Regions from separate parts of the Homo sapiens genome. Here region 2 is linked to region 1. Evidence: promoter capture Hi-C in 16 types of primary human blood cells and fetal thymus (Javierre and others, 2016). All regions are on one chromosome and are shown on one strand. The core of a region is centred on a gene start or on the middle of the fragment in contact, and the rest is flanking DNA. Distances in the headings are between cores, read along the strand shown. Region 1 holds the start of HSD11B2 (hydroxysteroid 11-beta dehydrogenase 2). Region 2 overlaps LRRC36 (leucine rich repeat containing 36).

Region 1 (6,734 bases), core at 4-2,503:
AGCCGTGGGTATTGGCGAGAGACCAGGCTGCTCCTCCCACGATGCAATGGAGTCAGTGCCCCCTGGCCTTTCTCCCCCTCCCCACTTCCGGCGGGCCTCCAGCCCCCCCCCCCCTTCCCCTTCCCTCCCTCTGGTGACAGATTTATTCCCTGCTCCAGACAAAGGAGCTCAGCTAGGCGGCCAGAGGCACCTGAGCCCAGCTCTCTAAGAGCTCCTTCCTGGGCACAGAGGACCAGGAGGGCTTGGGGGTGGGGTGCTGGGTGTAGGCTCCAAACTACTGCCTCAGCAGTTTGGCAGTGGGTGGCTAGACAGAAAGACAGCTGAATGTCCAGCTGCCCCTCACGGTGACCTCTAGCTTTTCTGAACTCCAAGGATCCCAGCCAGTGGGGGATGGGTGGGGTGGGGAAGTTCCCCATCTAAGCTCTTCCCTCTGGCCCGAGGAATGGGAGATGGGTATCTTAGGTGGGGATGTCAGGCAGAGTTCAAGGGGTAACGATCCTCCCTTCTCAAGGCCTCCGAAGTCCCCTGAGACTGCTCTCTTGGGGAAGGGAATGGCATAAACTCTCAAACTCCAGGAGGTTCCCTCTTCTCAGCCACCAGTCAGTTTCCTTCTCGAACCGGCCCACTCCCTGTCTCACTTTCCCTCCAACACTCCCCGCAGCGGCAGGTAGTGAACCCGGGCTTGGGGAGGTGCCCGGCGCTCCCTATTTGGCTCGCTCCCTGCACCCAGGGGTGGAGAACTCTCCCACTCTTGCGCTGAGGAGCCCGCCTTGGCTGTGCCCATGGGGAGTCAGTCCTGTTGAGTGTCCAGTCCCGCCCTCGAGCCTGGAGTCCCCGCGCTCCGCGACCCGCGCACTCACCGGTGATGAGCACCGCGCGAGTGGCCACCGGCAGGCGCTGCGGGCGCGCCAGGCGGGACAACGCGATCCAGCCGGCGGCGGCCAGCACGGCGAGTGCGGCCGGCGGGGGCAGCAGGCGCTGGCACAGCCAGTCGAGCGCGGCCAGCAGCGCCAGCGCCGCCAGCAGCGGGCGGCCCAGACGCAGGTCTGAGCGCAGCAGCTGCAGCAGCGCGCGGGCAGCCACGAGCAGCCAGGCGCCGCCCGACGGCCAAGGCCAGCGCTCCATGGCGGCCCAGCGGGCTGGGGCGGGGCGGGGCGGGGGCCGGGCCGGGGAGCGGGGAGAGAGAGCTTCTAGGCCGGGGCGCGGAGTGCGGGGGTACACCGGCCTGGGGCGCGAGAGGGACACTCGCTTTCTCTGCTCGCCCTCGGGCCGAGCTTATGAAGAGCCCCGGGGGCGGGGGAGAGGGCGGGGAGCGGGAGGGGCGGGGGCGGGGCTTTCCTTCACTTCTCTCCCGGCACCCCCCGCAGGGCAGGTGCTCCCCCCCCGCCCCGCCCCCTCGACCAGATTCGATTTGGAAAAAGCCGGAACAAAGTCCCAAAGTTGCTGCGCTCGAGGAGCCGCCTGGCTGCGGGCGGTGCTTGGGAGAGGGCCCGTCGGTCCAGCCCGGGTGCCCGGCCTCAGCTCTCCGCCGCGCCCCCACCCACACGCCCGGGGCCGCCAAGCCGCCGCGCTCAGGTGAGCACATGCCACTCACGCTTGTTCGGGACACCTGAGGACACGCACAACCGGCATCCCGGTGCCCTTTGCTGATCGCACCACCGCGGCCGCCAAGCCTGCAGGAACACCGCGAGGAACCAGCCGGTGCTCACCCGGTCTCCGCTGCCGCTGCCGCTGCCGCCCGCGCCCGTACACGCGCCGCACTCCCACGTGGTCGGCTGCGCCAGGTCCCTGGCGCACACACCCTAAGGCGCGCTCACCCCTGAGCAGCTCGCGGCCACAAAACCTGCCTGGGACAGGGGCTGGCGGGGGAACAGGACGACCGCTCCCGGTTCTTGGAGTCTCTGCCCCGTCTTTCCCTTTCCTTCCAGGGCTTAAACCTGGGGACGCACAACCCCACTTCCTGCCTCACAAATGTATGTGTGTGGGGGTCAGTGGAGGGTGGGGTGTCAGAGGAAGCACCTAGGTCTCCCATTACTTATGGCCCACCCCCGCCAACCCCAAGAGCCAGGCCAGAGGGACGTCGGTGAAGGCAGCCTCTAGGACAGGGTGGTCCCTGCCTTGCTCCCCTGAACCCCCAGGGGGTAAAATAAGTGGTATGAGTGTGGGTGGATTTTTCTGCCTGCGTGTGTGAAGGTCTCCATGCTTGTGTGTGGCCCAGTGGCCCCCCACCCTGCCCACCCCCGTGTCTGGCACCCTGTGCCTAGCATCCATGCCAGGGCTCTGCCAGGCACTGGGAGTTGGTGCCAGTACCTGGCTGCAGGCTTGATGCTGAGAGCAGTAGGTGTAGCCCTCGACAGAGGGGTCCCTGCTTCCCGTGGGCTTCCAGGCCGTGCTCAGTGCCTCATCCCTGCCCTCCCAAGATCCTGGGAGGTTGTGGACTCCCTGTCACACTTCCTAGCCCTGTTGCTCATTCTCTCTTAGGTGCCCAGGCTCTGCCAGGGTTTCAGGGCAATGCCTCCTCCAAAGCCCTCTCTGCCACCAGACACAGCCCCCTGGTGAGCCAGGGAAATCTCAGGGGAGGCTGGGAGCCAGACCCACCTAAAGGGAGAGTCTCTGGGTGGAGGACCAATTTGCCCTGAGCCACTCCTGTGCCTCCACCTATCCCTCCTCCTAAGGACAGATGACAGGCAAGCCCCAGACCTGGGAGGCAGGACTTGAATGAGGAGGGTGTGTGTGCCTGACCTTGGGTACATGACCTTGTGTGCCTGTGTTTGTAAGCACTTGTGTCCATGGGACTCTGTGGCTTGTCCAGGCCATTTGGTTGTGTCACTCCCTATGCCATGACCCTGTGTGTGCAAGTGAGTACATTTGTGTGCATTGTGTGTGTTTCTGGTAACTCTCTGTCCTTCGGTCTGGGTCATCCTGCCTCTAGAAACTCAGGGAAACATTCCTTTTCCAAAGTCACTGATTCCTGTTGCGGTGAATGTATGGCCCAGGCTTGGAGGCAGACACAGCACCCCTGGCCTGACTTCCTGATTTGAGCTGTAGAGATTGGATTGGCCAGACCCCCCAGCTTTAGCCACCACACCAAGAGTCTGGCTGTGGTTTCTCCAGCCTCAGTCCATTGGAGTCTTCCCCTTGGAGTGAGGAAGGGAGTAGAAGCTGAGATGAGGGTCCTGGGGAGCCTTCAAGGTCAAGGCAACACAGATAGAACCAGCACTTGCTAAAGCAGGAGTTGAAGAGTAGGGGGATGGGGCAGGAAGGCAAGATAAGGAAAGAGGCAGAAGCAGGGTCCTACACTGTCCTGGGAAGGAACCGTGAAGGCCACCATGGGGACAGACTTGCCAGGAGGCGATGTTGGGATTTGCGTTTGGCTGAAGAGTATAACATGGTTAGGATGAGGAAGGGGGTGTTTCCAGCTCAGCTTCTGGAACCTCGTGCCACCTCAGGCAGAGCCATTAGTCTTATGGGATTTGGGTCTTGGTGGGACTGGACCATCTGCCACATTTTTATATAAACTCCCCCTGCCCATTCATCCCACTTCCTAGTCCAAGCCTCCTCCTTCCCAGGACCTATGCTCCAGCTCCTGTGGCCTCCTCAACCACTGACCCCTTATCCCTTATTAGGTGGAGACGTTCTAGAAGTACAAGGTGGTTAGGGCAGTCATTGCTGGCAGAAGCTGGCCCAGCCCTGTCTGAGGCCTGTTGCCAAGTCGTGCCTGCCTAGGGGCAGAAAACCAGCCTCTGCTAGAAGCAGGAGTCTAGGCTGTCAGGGGCCTCCAGGGAAGAGAAGCGGAGAGGGGCAGTGGGCAGGAGCCTCAACAGATAAAGCAGGGCCTGGCAGGGCAGAGGAATGAAGGGTGACCAGGAGCAGAGCACCTGAGCCACTCGGCCCCTAAGCCCTCAGCCCACAGCCTCCCTTAGTCCTTTGTCCCAGCCTCCAACCCGCCTTGGTCAGAAACCTGGTTAACCAAACCCTTAGCACGCCCCAGGCTCTGGAGGACAAAGGGGTGGGCAGGCGGGCTCTGGTCTCCTCCAGCGGAGTCCAGCAGCTCACTGGTACCCTCTGCTGGCCGTGTAGGGAGAGCACGGCTCTGAAGGAGCTAAAGACCAGGTAACCCACCGGCTGCTGGGTTGAGGAGAGGGGAACAGATGTCTACAGTAGGGGGTACCAAGTGGCAGACTCCAGGAGCCCTCTCGCTCTGTCCTCTGACTGTACTTGGGTTCCTGGAGCAGAGCACTCAGCACTGACTTGTCACCTCCTCTTCCCTCTGCAGCTAAGAGGCTGCAGATTCCCAAGGAGCCCCTGCCCTGCACTCTGCTTCACGCCTTCACCCCCACCATGCCTCCTCTTGGCAGAATGGCAGAGGGTCCCTCTTCCTGCCAGTGGCCAGGGTCCTAGACCCCATTGCTCCCTGTCCTCAAAGACAACAAACTTGTATTGAGTTCCTACTGCATGCCAGGCCCTGTGCTGGGCACCACAGATATAGCAACTGACTACTGGCCCCAGCAGCAAGTGTACTGGCGCTAGCCTCACCCATTGGGAACCTCAAGCCCGTATCCCTTTCCACAAGCATCTCTCTTGTGGCTGGGCGTGGTGGCTCACGCCTGTAATCCCAGCACTTTGGAAGGCCAAGGCAGGCGGATCACCTAAGGTCAGGAGTTCGAGACCAGCCTGGCCAACATGGCGAAACCCTGCCTCTACTAAAAATCCAAAAATTAGCCAGGTATGGTGATGCATGCCTGTAGTCCCAGCTACTCATGAGACTGAGGCAGGAGAATCTCTTGAATGTGGGAGGCGGAGATTGCAGTGAGCCGAGATTGTACTACTCACCGCACCCCAGCCTGCGTGACAGAGCAAGACTCTGTTTCAAAAAAAAAAAAAAAAAAAAAAAAAAAGCATCTCTCTTGTGTTTTCTCCTACTGTTTTCAGCTGCATTTCTCTAAAGTTGTCCATAATCACCATCACCACTCTCCCCTCCCAGCCTTTGCCTGGGACCAGCTCCCAATCGTAACCCCCTAGTCCCCAAATCCCATAGACTCATCTCTGGCTTCAGCTAATTTGGCCTCTTCAAAGCCTCGGCCCTGCTGACCTCTCTTTCCTGCCCCAAGCCCTGTCTCCCTTGGGTGCCTGCGAAGCCACGGCTGCCGGGTTTCCTCCGACCTCACTGCCTCTCCTTCTCAGCCTCCTTCTCCAGCTTCTCTTCCTTGTGGGTGAAGCTCTGGCTGTAGAGGCCTCACCCTCGGCCCTCCCCACACCATGAGCTCATCTTTCTACTCACATGCTGGCGACCTCCCTGCTTGCTTTCTGGCCAAGCTCTCCCTTTTGACCACAGGCCCACATGTCCAGCTGCCCCTGGACACTTCCCTTGGACACACATAGGCCCCTCAGCCTCAGCATGTCTAAAGCTGGTCCTGGCAGCCATCGTGCCCCACCACATCCTCAATCTTCATGCCATGCACTGGCCTCCAAATCTCTTGCTGTGTCCCAAGCCCTGGGTTGGGTGCAGATACCTCATCATAGCCTTTGTAGTAGTTGTCATTATCACCATTTTACATTCAAGGGAACTGAGGCTTCCAGAGGTGAAGGGAATTGCTCAAGCTCTCAAGTTCCACTTGCGTTGGAGTCTTGGACCAGCCCCAAGATTCAAACTCAGGTGTACCTGAACCCAAAGTCTGGGCTCTTGAGAACTGTGTTAATACGGGGCTGTGTTGGTCACCTGTGGCATCTTAGACTTCATCCTGAGGGCAAAGGAGAGCTTGGAATGGTTTTGAGCAAATGAGACCCCCATCCCAGGTGGACAGGAAATGGATCTGGGGAAGAGTGGAGGCTGACTAAATTATTATTATCACTCTTAAATTTTATTATGATTATTACTTTATTATTATTATTATTACTTTTAGTTAGAGATGGAGTCTTGCTCTGTCACCCAGGCTGGAGTACAGTGGCACAATCACGGCTCACTGCAGCCTTGAACTCCTGGGCTCAGGCGATCCTGCCATCTCAGGCCTCCGTAGTAGCTGGGACTACAGGCACTCACCACCACACCTGGCTATTGTTTTTTAAATTTTTTGTAGAGACAGGGGTCTCACTATGTTGCCCAGGCTGGTCTTGAACTGCTGGCTTCAAGTGATTCTTGAGGCTGGGAGTCTTGTTCCTGCATCCAGATGAGGGACGGAGCAGAGGTCTGTTCAAACAAACTGAGCTTGAGGCACCCCTGAACATGCAAAGGCTGAGCCCCAAGGCAGGTGGAAGCCTGTGGGCTCCAGCATGTTGCTCCTGTAGCGTGGGAGCCCTGGAGGTTGCCGACTCCCCTCTGATTACCCTAGGCATGAACTGAACTCGCCCCTGCCTCCACCATTTTTCAGAGCTATCCCATCTGGGCTGGGCACCTGGAAACCAGGCCCTTCAGTTACGGAACTGAAGGAAACCTCCCCTCCAGTTACCAGAGAGGGAGGCAGTAAGACACAGAAAGCCAGGAGCATCACTTGTGTTTTCAGCCTGTGTCTGGCACCCTCCTCCGAACTTTTACTGTCTCCAGGATTAAAGGCAGATGTTTGGGGATTAGGGTCCTTGAGTTTGGGAAACAGAGAGAGTATGTTCTGCAGGGCTTTCTGGACCAGTCCCAGGCGGAAAGCAAGCCTCAGCTGAGAGCATTTGGAGGGAGAGCTTGACTGACTCTGGATGAAATCCTTCTAGGATCCGTCTTGTATCCTCCAGTGTGGTTGTGTGTT
Region 2 (6,814 bases), core at 437-2,936, 63 kb after region 1:
GGGTATGTCTTTATTAGCAGTGTGAGAACAGACTAATACAAGGGTTGTCTATATTCAGTAACTTTACTGCCTTGCTTCCAATTTTTTTCTTGAATTCACCTCAGTGAGGCTTTCATTCTCATGCATCCCCTGAAGCTGTTCATTAATGTCTTCTTCATTGCCAAATACCATAATCACTTCTCAGTCCCAGGCTCCCTCCCTCCCTATCAGGAGAAGCATTTGACCTAGCATTGATCACTCCCTCCTTCTTGAAACACATTCTTCACTTGGCTTCCAGGATATTACTTCCTCTTGGCTTTTTCCCCTCTATCTTACTGGCTGCTGCTTTCTCACTCTCCATGATGGTTTCTCTTTATCTACTTCTAATTGTTGGAGGGCTCAGGACCAGTCCTCAGATCTCTTTTCTATCTATATTCACTCTTTTGGTGAGATTTCATCCAGTCTCAGAGTTTTACTGTCACCCATACACTTATAATCTCCAAATTTATATTTCCAGCCATACCTTCTTCCCTAAACTCTGGACTAGTATGTCCAATTACCAAATTGGCATCTCTGGAAAGTTTTAATAAGGCACCTGAAACTTAAGATGTCCAAAACCCAACTCTTGATATTTATCTTAAAATCTCTACCTCCCATTCTTTTCCATCTTAGTAAATGAAAGCTCTGTTCTTCTAGTTATTCAGACTCAAAACCACAGAATTACCATTGACCCTCTTTCTCCCACACTTTATCCTGGATCCATCAGCAAACCATGGAGTGTCATCTTCAGAACATATTCAGAATCTGACTACTTCTCACCACCTCCACCGCTATCTGTCTAGCCCAAGCCATCATCATCTGTTACGCTGATTCCAATCTCTCCAAAGCATTTTAAAAAAATTTCTACCCTCCTCCCCATAGTCTATTCTCAGCCCAACATTCACAGTAATTCTTAAGTGAGATCACATCACTCCCTTGCTACAAACTCTCCAACTCCTTCTGATCTCACCCAGAAAAAAGTCTGGCATCTTTCTTACTTCATCTATACACTCTACTTTCTTTGCTGAGGCCGCACTGGCCTCCCTGAGGTTCCTTGTACATGAAAAGTATGTTCCAGCCTCAGGACTTTTGCATTTATTCCCACTGTCTAGAAAGTTCTCCTCCCAGACCCACATGGCTTATACTCCCACTTCATTCAAGTCTCTACTTTTATGGTGCCTCATCAGAGAAGCTTTCTGGACCATTCTATCTAAAGCATCGCCTCCTCCTTATCACGCTCTATGCCCTTATATAATTTTTTCACAGCATTTACCATAACCTGACATATATTTGCATGCTAAAATGTTTATCATGTGTCTTACCCCATGAGAATGTAAGCTCTATGAAAGTAGGGACTGTCTTCTTATTATGGTAAAATATACATGGAACTTTATTTTGGTTGCTACTTTATCTCCAGAGCTAGAACAGTGTCTGGGACACTGTAGGTGTTCAATGAGTTTGGTTGAATAAATAAGTAACAGAAGAGTGATCTCTGTCACTAACTCTGAAACTAACTTCTGTTTTTGTTTTCAAGATGGAGTCTTGCTCTGTTGCCCATGGAGTGCAGTGGCCCGATCTTGGCTTACTGCAACCTCTGCCTCCCAGGTTCAAGCAATTCTCCTGCCTCTCAGCCTCCTGAGTAGCTGGGATTACAGGCGCATGCCACCATGCTCAGCTATTTTGTGTGTGTGTATTTTTGGTAGAGACGGGGTTTCACCATGTTGGCCAGGCTGGTGTCGAACTCCTGACCTCGTGATCCACCCGGCTCAGCCTCCCAAAGTGCTGGGATTACAGGCATGAGCCACCGTGCCCAGCCTGAAACTAACTTCTTCTGAAAGTAAGTCAGAATAGAAGTGACTGTGAGTAAAGACTAGATGTCCTGGGATGCTGCTTAACTAAAATAGCAAGTAGCTGCAATGCTCACTTTCCTACAAATTTTCCCTAATATATATATCATGTTAAACTCATACCCTACAGATTTCTCGAGGTTCCAAGAACCACTGGTGACCCTAAAATACAACTTAAGAAATGCTAATACAATTTCAGAAGGGTTAATTCCAAAATTTTCACTTATATCTTCTATCTTCATGCCTATGAAGAAGACCTGTAAACTGACAGGAAGCTGTTACCTGAACTAAGCTTCAAAAGCCTTCCAGTGCTGGAGTCAGGGTTTGACAGAGAAGTTAATAAGTCTCCACAGGAATGTGAAGCGGTGGTCTTTATGTCATTTGAAGGCTTTATGCTATACTCTTGATAGTTCTTGCTTCTCTGAGGCCTTTTACCAAGACTTCCATGCAGGGATAGAGTTTGAGAATAACAACTGTCATAATTTTCCAGACCAACATCTGAAGGTAACTGATAGGGATGGATCTGGCTAGAATCACCCACATCCAGGCATTTACTCAATGAGGCATCATGGGTAAGATGAAAAGTATCAGGTTTTGGTATCAATTCCTTTTCTGGAGAAGAACCTGAAGACTTATTGTCCAAAAAAGATACTTGGTACCCTTCTCTAGTCATCTTCTCTGGGGATCGGACTGTGGACTGACGAGGCGAGTAGTGTCTGAACTCTAAACACCACCAAGGCAAAAAAACAAAACATGATAAGAATTCTTTGTGGCCTAGCTGGGAGTACCTCTGTTCACTGAACATATTCTCTGTCTGCCAGAAACACCTCTCAGGAAGAGGTGGTTTATAATTCTGATCAATGGTAGCATAAAGTGATGAAAGGACTTCCACATGGAACACCACCACCACCAATAAAATGTGGGACTTTTGTGTAAACAGTAAAGAATCTATAACATTCTGGAGACAAATTCTGTTTCTTTTTTTTTTTTGAGACAGGGTCTCACTCTGTCGCCCAGGCTGGAGTGCAGTGGCGCAATCTCAGCTCAGTGCAACCTTCGCTTCCCAGAGGGAAGCGATTCTCGTACCTCAGCCTCCCGAATAACTGGGATTACAGGCACATGCCACCATGCCCAGCTAGCTTTTGTATTTTTAGTAGAGATGGGGTTTCACCGTGTTGGCCAGGCTGGTCTCCAACTCCTGACCTCAAGTGATCCACCCGCCTCGGCCTCCCAAAGTGCTGAGATTATAGGCAAGCACCACCATGCCCGGCTAATTTTTGTATTTTTTGTAGAGATGGAGTTTCACCATGTTGGCCATGCTGGTCTCAAACTCCTGACCTCAGGTGATCCACCTGCCTCGGACTCCCAAAATGCTGGGATTACAGGCATGAGCCACTGTGCCTGGTCCGAAAAAAATTTTTTTAATTAGCCAGGTGTGGTGGTAGTCCTAACTACTTGGGAGGCTGAGGTGGGAGGATTGCTTGAGCCCAGAAGTTTGAGGTTATTATGAGCTCTGATTGTGCCACTGTACTGTACTCCAGCCTGGGCAACAGATTGAGAACTTGTCTCAAAAATAAAAAAAATTAAAAAAAAAGAGAGAAGGAAGTGGGAAGAGAGAGAGAGAACGAACTGCCTAGAAATCTACACCCATCTAAAATACCCTTCAAGAATGATAGTGAAATAGAGGCATTATCACACAAAGAAAAGCTGAAAGAGCTCATCACTAATAGACCTACATTAAAGTATGTGCCACTGTAAGGCAAAGGAAAATGATATCAGAAGGGAAGCCTGGGAAGAAAAAGGAAGTGAACAAACAGTAGTAAATTAATGGATAGATTTAAATCTACACTGACTATATAAAAAATAATATCTTGTGAAGTCTTTAAAAATATAGAGAATTAAAATTCATAATAACAACATATAAGTCAGGAAAGAGTAAATGAAATAAAGTACTGTACGGTTTTTGAATTATCCAAAAGAAGACTTAAGGTATTAACAATTTAAAAATTATGTAAGTTAAGGATACATATTATCATTTGGGGAATAATACTAAAAGTATAGAAAATGTATATAACTTATAAACCAGTAGAGAGAAACAAATGGATGAATAAAAAATAATAAATACAAAAGAAGGCAAGAAAGGTAACAAAAAGAATAGTCATCCAACGCAAAAAAAATCAAGAACAAAGGAGGTCAGAATATGCACTCTTTAAGCAGAAAAGTCTCACAGGTTACTAATCATCCAGGACAGTCCCTCACAAAAGCAGAAATTAGTTGACTAAATAGGGCCCCCATATTGAGACATCTTCATCTCCCAAATCCCATCACATCCAGACTTCTCTGATTAGTGTGGGGGAAAAATACTCAGTGAGCAAAATATTTACCATCTTCCTGGTGATTGTCACTTGGCATCTCCCTTCTTGCTACTTCCTGTGTCTAAAAAAAGTTCGAAAGTTTAGGTAGAAGGAAGTCCATGCGCGTTCAAATGTGAGCTTATTAGACTAGGGGTTCAGAATACCTTCCTATTAATGGGAAAGACTATCCTTGCAAGCTAGGGAAACAGACCTTTAAGCAAAGGTCCAGTTTAAGTCTATTTTAAAACAGTCACAATACAAGGAGATTCCAGAGTTGCTTGAATATCCTTAGGAAGTAAAGGACATAGCAAACAATGACTGTACTTTCTCTGCCTTAGATAGCTCATAGAAGGTAGATGAGGGCCACTTTCCAGCTTTGCTTTTTCTGTTTAAAGGACTCTCATGCTTATTTTACCAGCTGATAAAGCTATCAACCACCATAGCTAAGGGGGTTTTAATAGGCTGAAAATTAATCTGAGGCATAACTAGGCAAGGACTGAAGGAAAACAGAAAGCCATCTAGGGTTTGCTTTTAAAAAAATTATCTTAAAGTATTCAGTGTCTTTTTGGTAGTCATGGAGAGAAAGAAATCCCACTTCCTTATTTCTTAAACTAAAAAGATACAGCAAACTATTCAATTTCCTTTTTTCTCACTTCAAGAAGTAATTTCAGAGAAGTTTTTTTGTTTGCTTTTTTATCTAAGAAGTGCTATTTAACTGGAGATTGCAATACTCTTTGTCTCCATTTCCTTAAGTCAATATGGTTTTAAAAAATGGTAACTGAGATTGTTTCTAAGTCACCCAAGTATAATCTCCAAAAACAAAGAAACTGATTAAATGCTTATCTTTTTAAAAGATGAAGGTAGTCTATACCCAAACTGAAAAGAATAGTACTAACTTTTTACTAATTCAGTCTTGATTGTCCAAATTATGGATTAATCAGAGCCTTTGCTGCTTTTCTTTCTCCTCCTGGCTATTTTCTACAATTTTATTGCTCATAAATGTATCAAAGAAAAGGCACAGAAAGGGAGAAGGTGAATATAAAGTAGTCAGTTCTGCTCCTTGTATCATATTCACTCACACAAACAAGTCTTACATAATGGTTGCATCCCTTCTGTCACCAATTTTTTCACTAAAACCTTATTTTTCACTCCTCCCCCATCTTGCATGATCTCTATCTTCCCATTGCCCACAACTTCCATGCCATCTTTACCCCTTAAACTTTACTTTTTCTGTTATACTGCAGAGGCAGCTTTGGGAAAGTCATACCTAAAATGTAAGACTCAGTATTAAAGGGTGTAGGTAGAAAATGTAAGAAGCAAGGCAACAGGAGATGGAGATATTGGATAGAGGGGAGAAAATTTAAAACCAGCCAAAAACTGTAACAGTTGCATTCTTGTTTGAGGACCAAAATGCCTTTCATAGATATGCTAAAGTTATATGTATAAATATATGACATTAGATAACAGGTTAGTGTGAGAGAGAGGGAAATGGGAGATTGAAATTAATGGAGAAGGTACTCTGCATTCTGTCCTGCCCTTTCCTTTAAAAGGGTCTAAAATGCCTTCATCAAACAAGTCCTCTGAGACCTTCATAAATAATTGAGAGCCCACTGAATTATCAGTATTAATCATTGACTAGTCAACAGATCAGCAGGAGAGTGAATACATTACCTGTGTCCCCAGTGGGAAGGTGTCTAATTTCTGATCACGTGTACCATTGCCCTGAGTTGCAGAAGTACTTAGGGAATCCTTTATTTCCCGGTTGGGGAAGGGAATAAAAAGTCCTTTGTTTGAGTCTGTGTTAAAAGAAAAAGCAAACAATAAAGCACTCACTGACCAGACTTCAAAGGCAGCATGTCTAATGGATAGATACTAAAAGGAAAGTCACAAGATTGAGTGCTAGTTCTGGTGCCACCACTTGGAGACCACATGAATTTGAGCAAATCACTTAACCTCTCTACTTCTCTCACTTCGTTTGGAAAACAGAGATGATAAAATCTAAACTGCCTATCTGTTAGGGTTGAGCCAGGTTAAAACAGGATAATGGATATGAAATGGCTTCATAATTTATGAAGTGCTCAACAGAAACTGAGTGGAAGGCAAATATTTTGCACATTTCCTAAGCGAATAAATAATTAACTGTGATACCAATTCCATAATCTCCAACTACAGGGGGAGATGCTGGGAATAGACTCCTGGCATTATACATCTCCAGGGTACTAATCAGCAGTCAGCACTGATTGACCATTTCAAACTAGCCTTTTTCTGCCTTGCTTTCTCTCTTTTGTAAAAAGAGAAAACTAAGCTGGGCGTGGTGGCTCACGCCTGTAATCCCAGCACTTTGGGAGGCTGAGGTGGGCAGATCACTTGAGGTTAGGAGTTCGAGACCAGCCTGACCATCATGGTGAAACTCTGTCTCTACTAAAAATACAAAAATTAGCCGGGCCGGGAGTGGTGGCGCGCGCCTATAATCCCAGCTACTCAGGAGGCTAAGGCAGGAGAATTGCTTGAACCAGGGAGGTGGAGGTTGCAGTGAGCCACGACTGTGCCACTGCACTCCAGCCTGGGCGACACAGTGAGACTCTATCTCAATAA

What was found. Contacts are between HindIII fragments. The CHiCAGO score rates a contact against its expected background, and 5 or more counts as called.
Region 2: a fragment that was not itself captured here is called in contact with the fragment with the promoter of HSD11B2 in region 1 in 1 of 17 cell types (M1 macrophages); the score reaches 5.2 in M1 macrophages.

The regions. Positions count from the first base shown.
Region 1 is chr16:67,425,640-67,432,373 of GRCh38, reverse strand. It overlaps HSD11B2 (hydroxysteroid 11-beta dehydrogenase 2), which reads right to left and starts at 1,253. Exons shown (of 5, transcript NM_000196.4): 1 at 861-1,253. The coding sequence starts at 1,125. LOC124903702 (a long non-coding RNA gene) reads right to left here. Exons shown (of 2, transcript XR_007065093.1): 2 at 5,843-6,734. RefSeq lists silencers at 1,135-1,314, 1,535-1,584 and enhancers at 3,290-3,824, 3,825-4,359. The HindIII fragment of the contact is 16,145 bases long and covers 1-6,734 here.
Region 2 is chr16:67,362,791-67,369,604 of GRCh38, reverse strand. It overlaps LRRC36 (leucine rich repeat containing 36), which reads right to left. Exons shown (of 14, transcript NM_018296.6): 6 at 5,891-6,015; 7 at 4,250-4,301; 8 at 2,148-2,588. Among named protein-coding and RNA genes, the nearest start is that of TPPP3, 27 kb to the left of the region's middle. The HindIII fragment of the contact is 947 bases long and covers 1,213-2,159 here.